Linked DNA regions of Homo sapiens: region 2 is linked to region 1. The links are contacts of gene promoters, found by promoter capture Hi-C in blood cells and fetal thymus (Javierre and others, 2016). All regions are on one chromosome and are shown on one strand. The core of a region is centred on a gene start or on the middle of the fragment in contact, and the rest is flanking DNA. Distances in the headings are between cores, read along the strand shown. Region 1 holds the start of MIR22HG (MIR22 host gene). Region 2 holds the start of CRK (CRK proto-oncogene, adaptor protein).

Region 1 (2,700 bases), core at 107-2,606:
GTTTCCTTAAAGGCGCAATGTCCTGAACGCAGGCTCAGAATTTTGGAGCTCCAAGTGAACCTTATCAATTACCTGATGGAGTGCGTATTTAACAGAAGGAAGGATCTCACCCTCCAGCCTCATCATTCCTGCTTAGTTACCCTCAGCCCCTATTTGGAGCTGAAGGAAAAGGCATGGATTTCAGTCCACATGTTCCTCTTTGGGGGACTTGCGGGGATTGATAAGGTAGGGCAGGTCTCCGGCTTGCCCCTTTAAAAACGCCGACCAGCAGCTTTTGCCAAGTCACTGGGTTCATTTCACTTTTTGCCCATCCCCCGCTCATCTAGACTCTGATTGGCCCCTGGGGAAGGAGCAGCCTGCTCATTGGTCTCCACCTTCGAATCTCTTCCCTAAGTAGGCCTGAGTCAGTGAAGAGCTTTGGAGGGCGGGACTGAATGGGGGTTAATCAGAGGATGCGATTGCTGACCCTTTGCACTTTGGCATGGCCCATCCCCTAATTTCTGACCAGAAGCCCTCCCTCTACCCTAAGGTGAGGACTGTGCTATGAATCTTTTGTTAGAAAGCTACCTCTTGGGAGGCTCTGGGGGCTCTTCTGGGACTGGGAAGAGACATCCAAGAAAAAAAGCCTCCTGTGGTTAGGAAGAGCCCCCAGGAGGAGTGGGCTGGGCGAGGCGAGCACCCTCCCTCCTCCAAAAACCCTGGAGAGCTCTCCAACGGCAGTCTCTGCTGCCCTGGGGGCTGACGCTCTGCCCACTCCTGCTCCTTGGTCCGCTCCACCTTTCCTTAAAGAGCTATAGCGTCCCGCAGAGGCCGGCGAGTCAGTTTGGGGAATGTCTAAAAGAAGCACTCACGACTCCAACAAGGAGGGGCTGTCGCCCTTTAAGGACTTCCCCGGGCTGGATTCCGAGCTCAGTTTAAAAATGCCAACTCACAGAGCGCGCTGGGTTCTGGGAACGACGGTGTCAGGCTGAGAACTACACGGACCAGCATGCATTGCAAACGCAGACGCCGTGGCTTTCGCCTGCTCTTTAGGACTCTCGTTTGACGTAGCGCTTTTCTAAGCGGGTCGCTGACGCGGAGGGCTGGGCCACACCTGTCCGTCTATTGGCCGGCTCCTCAGTGGGTGGGCGTGGCTTCGTGCAATTCCGCCCGGCAAAAGGGTGGCCTCCTTGCCAATCAGAGCCAGGGCGCCCGGAGAGGCGGGACCAGGGCGAGGCCCCGTCGGCCCCCGGGTGGGCGGGGCCACGTTGCCCAGCAGTGGGCGGTGATTGGCCCCGGGCCGTGCATTCGCAGCTCGTGCGTCACGACGCCGCCAGCTGATCGGAGCCTGGAGCCGGTGTGTGCTGGGTGCCGAGAAGAGACAGCGCCGCCGGCCGTGGGGAGCGGACGCAGTGATTTGCTCCCCCTCGTGCAGCAACCCCCACACCCAGCACCAGGTGGGTGTGAGCTGGCGACCCGGTCACGCAGCGGGGAGCCGCGGTAACGGGATGGAGGGTGAAAGTGGGGTCCGGGCGGCCACACCCAGCCCTTCCGGGAGGAGAAGGGGCGGCGGGGGCAGGGGCGCCTCGGGGAGAGGGGCCTGGACTGGCCGGGTTAGTGTGTCAGGAGCTACGAGGAAAGAGTCTGGGACGGGAGTCGTGGCGGAAGGGCTGGCGGAGTGGCGGGGGGCGGGGGGAGAGCCGAGGGGCCGGAGGGCCGGGGGCGGCTCACCCGGCGGCCCCCGGTCTGAGGATACAGGGGCCGGCCATCTAGCCTGGGGAGGGTCTGGACCCCCCGAGCGGGCGGCGAGGAGGTGCTTTGCCTCTGCCGGCGTTCACTGGGTCAGGGCCAGTTCAGCGCCCTGGCAGGGAAGGGGTCGCTGGGCGGGCCGGCCCCTCCTCTCGTTCTCTCCAGGGGATGTTATGTAAGGGGGGAGGGGAGAGGAGTAGGGGGCGGCGGTGCCGGGGCCTTATGCAACCCAAAGGTTAGGGTTTCACCGTGGTTGGGCGGGGGGAAGAGGGCAAGAGGAGGGCCTGGAAACTCTAACCCCCGCTCCCCAGACTAACTGGCCGTCTTGGGCCGAGAGAAGGTCACCTCTGCACCTCCCCCCAGCCTGTCCGATTGTGAGGCCCCTAGCCCAGGCCTGGCCCTGACTGCCTGGGAAGCCGGCTGGCTGGGTGGGGCGCCTGGGTTAGTCATCACTGGGCTGCCTCTCTCCCCACCTCTCGGCCAACTCTTGGCCCCTCCCCATGGCCTCCGGCGAGGCTGTCACCCCCACCTCCCTCCGGCCCTGGTTCCAGCCTCCAACTCCTTTGGCCTGTCATCCTGGCTGTCAGATTGGGCTAGGAGCTGTCAGAGTGCCAGAGGGTTGATGGAGCAGCTGGTCAGAGGGTCAGTGCCCTGGGCCCACCCCGCCCTGCAGCCAAGGGCACCTGCTTGGCACAGACTCTCAGCAGCTGCTGAGTCCTCTGGGTTGAACAGAGCTATCTCAGACAGAGGAAGGTCGGACGGAGTTGGACTGGTCACCCAGGGGAAGGAAGATACACAAAGTTCATGCCTCCCAAGAGGGTTTCGGAATTTGAACCGCACCCCGTATCCCCCAATCTTTCTTACCCTCTGAGTATAGAAATTCCAAGGCAAGACCGCCTTGGCCCCTCAGCCTGGCGTGGGCCATGCCCTTGGACTGAGTGTCAGCACGGACCCGCCCTCCCCAGCTCACAT
Region 2 (2,700 bases), core at 32-2,531, 260 kb after region 1:
GCGGATCTCAAGGTCAGGAGATCGAGACCAGCCTGGCTAACACGGTGAAACCCCATCTCTACTAAAAATACAAAAAGTTAGCCGGGCGTGGTGGCGGGTGCCTGCAGTCCCAGCAACTCGGGAGGCTGAGGCAGGAGAATGGCGTGAACCCGGGAGGCGGAGCTTGCAGTGAGCCGAGATCACGCCCAGGCACTCCAGCCTGGGCGACAGAGCGAGACTCCATCTCAAAAAAAAAAAAAAAAAAAAAAGAAAGAATGTCCTTCCCCATTTGTCATTCAGCAGTCAACACATGCTGCCTCCTCTGGGAAGCCCTCCTGGATTACTCCATAGACTGGCTGTGGGGGCTCTGCTCTGTGTTCATGTCCGTTTCCCATGATAGCGTTTGTCAGCATTTGTCATCCTTTTGTCATCCAGTTTCCTGGTTCCTCTCACTGGTCTGTGAGTTCGAGGAGTGCAGGGCCCAGCCATGATAACCTTTGCACCCGCAGTGCAAGTGGAGTGTCAACAACAATGTCCTAGGTGAATCAATGAAAATGAGAACGTCAGCTGGTCTGTGGAGAAGCTAGAGGAACGAGCAGAAACGGACCGACGTGGCCGGGCGCGATGTTTCTCGCCTGTAATCCCAGCACTTTGGGAGGCCGAGGCGGGCGGATCACCTGAGGTCAGGAGATTGAGACCATCCTGGCCGACATGGTGAAACCCCCGTCTCTACTAAAAATACAAAAAACAGCCGGGCGCGGTGGCTCACGCCTGTAGTCTCAGCTACTCGGGAGGCTGACGCAGGAGAATCGCTTGAACCCGGGAGCAGTGAGCCGAGATCGCGCCATTGCACTCCAGCGTGGGCGACAGAACAAGACTCCGTCTCAAAAAGAAAAAGAAAAAAGAAACAGACTGATATCGCAGGAAGCCTGGCCGAGAACTCAGGCCCCAGGGCCACACGCATCTTTTCTCCTCCAATTCTGTCTGGGAGTCGCTGCCTAGAAGTCCCAGGTCGTCCAGGAACCGGGGCCCAGACGAGAAGCACCGCTCTGTCCGCAGCGCAGGCGCGCGTCTCTGCGGGAGGCTGCGAGGCCCCGCCCCTCGGGCCCTAGACCCCGCCTCCCATCCCCCGCAGCCCGGGCCCGGGAAGGGCGGCACCGCCCATGAATCCGCATGCGCAGTGCGCGCGCGAGGGCGCCTTGCCCTTCTCCCAATGGCGGGCCGCGGGCCCCTTCCCGGCAGCCTCCCTCGGGCAGGGAGCGCGTCATTTCCGGAGGGGGAGGCCCGCGGCTGCCGCCGCCATTTCGGGCGCTGCTGTGAAGCTGAAACCGGAGCCGGTCCGCTGGGCGGCGGGCGCCGGGGGCCGGAGGGGCGCGCGCGGCGGCGGCACCCCAGCGTTTAGGCGCGGAGGCAGCCATGGCGGGCAACTTCGACTCGGAGGAGCGGAGTAGCTGGTACTGGGGGAGGTTGAGTCGGCAGGAGGCGGTGGCGCTGCTGCAGGGCCAGCGGCACGGGGTGTTCCTGGTGCGGGACTCGAGCACCAGCCCCGGGGACTATGTGCTCAGCGTCTCAGAGAACTCGCGCGTCTCCCACTACATCATCAACAGCAGCGGCCCGCGCCCGCCGGTGCCACCGTCGCCCGCCCAGCCTCCGCCCGGTGAGGGACTGACGGGACGGCGGGCCCTGGGCGGGGTGAGGGCCGCGGAACTCCCAGCCTGGCTGGCTGGTCCTCGAGAGCGGACCCTCGGGGGTCGTGGGCAGAGGGCTGGGTGACCGTGGCAGGGGCCCGCCGGCTGCTCGGGCTCGCTCTCACCCGGGGAGCAGGAGTGTGGGGGAGGAGGAGCCGCGGACCGAGGCCCCGGGGTGTGCCTGGGGAGGGCAGCCGCGGGGAAGGGGAACTGCTTCGGCCCCAGGGTGGGGCTGGCTCCCGGGCCAGGCGCAAGGGTAGGGCAGGGCAAGGCAACGTGGGGACAAAGAGCTGAGGGAGATGTTGGCACTGCGGGGGCATCACTTGGCAGCGGCGCCCAGAATGAATCCGATAATCCTACAAGTGGCTTTTAGGCTGGAAACGTTTCCTGCCGTGTTGGAGAGCCGGGTTTGGCCGTGCTCCCCTGGTGGCCTTTGGTAGGAAGTCACCACATACTGGCCGGGAGGGATGGAGACACCCTCAGGAAACCGGTCAATTTTTTCCTTTCTTGGGCATTTTTCCAAAATCTTTGTACCGTTCTCTTCCCCCGTGGAGGACGAAGGTGGTGAACTAAGTGCTAGAAGAAATAGTGGTAGCAGAAAGCCTTCAGTGACCAGCCCAACCCAGTTTAAGGCGATGCCTGGCTATGTGCAAGAGATCTAAGCGTCCAGAAGACTGTCCGCCGTTAGAGAGTTCTGGTTTTCAAAGTGTTTAGTGGAGGAAAGACATTTTATTCCACAAAATAAACCAGAAGTGAGGCAATGGAAACAGACCCTTCCCTGTAAGTGACTGGAACTTCATTTTCCTTGGACTTAAACATTGTCGGTGTGTACTTCAGGGCGTCACCTTGCTCAGTAAGATGGGGCTGCGGGCTGAGTCTTCCTGGATATTGGGAACAGACTCTACGCCAAGAACATAAATTACCTGCGCTGGGTTTTCCTTGCCAGGGAGGGATCCCTGAGATTGACTGTCTTACCGATGCCGTTGGAGTTGATTTGGGACTGTTTTAAGGGAATAGATAGATGCCCTTAGTA

What was found. Contacts are between HindIII fragments. The CHiCAGO score rates a contact against its expected background, and 5 or more counts as called.
Region 2: a contact is called between the fragment with the promoter of CRK here and the fragment with the promoter of MIR22HG in region 1, in 1 of 17 cell types (neutrophils). The highest score is 6.1, in neutrophils.

Annotation. Positions count from the first base shown.
Region 1 is chr17:1,714,866-1,717,565 of GRCh38, reverse strand. It overlaps MIR22HG (MIR22 host gene), which reads left to right and starts at 1,356. Exons shown (of 3, transcript NR_028505.2): 1 at 1,356-1,436. It also overlaps a transcript of WDR81 not described here. RefSeq lists an enhancer at 568-1,209. The HindIII fragment of the contact is 4,707 bases long and covers 1-2,700 here.
Region 2 is chr17:1,454,813-1,457,512 of GRCh38, reverse strand. CRK (CRK proto-oncogene, adaptor protein) reads left to right here and starts at 1,281. Exons shown (of 3, transcript NM_016823.4): 1 at 1,281-1,636. The coding sequence starts at 1,396. RefSeq lists silencers at 973-1,472, 1,563-1,622, 1,733-1,862 and an enhancer at 1,127-2,112. The HindIII fragment of the contact is 20,688 bases long and covers 1-2,700 here.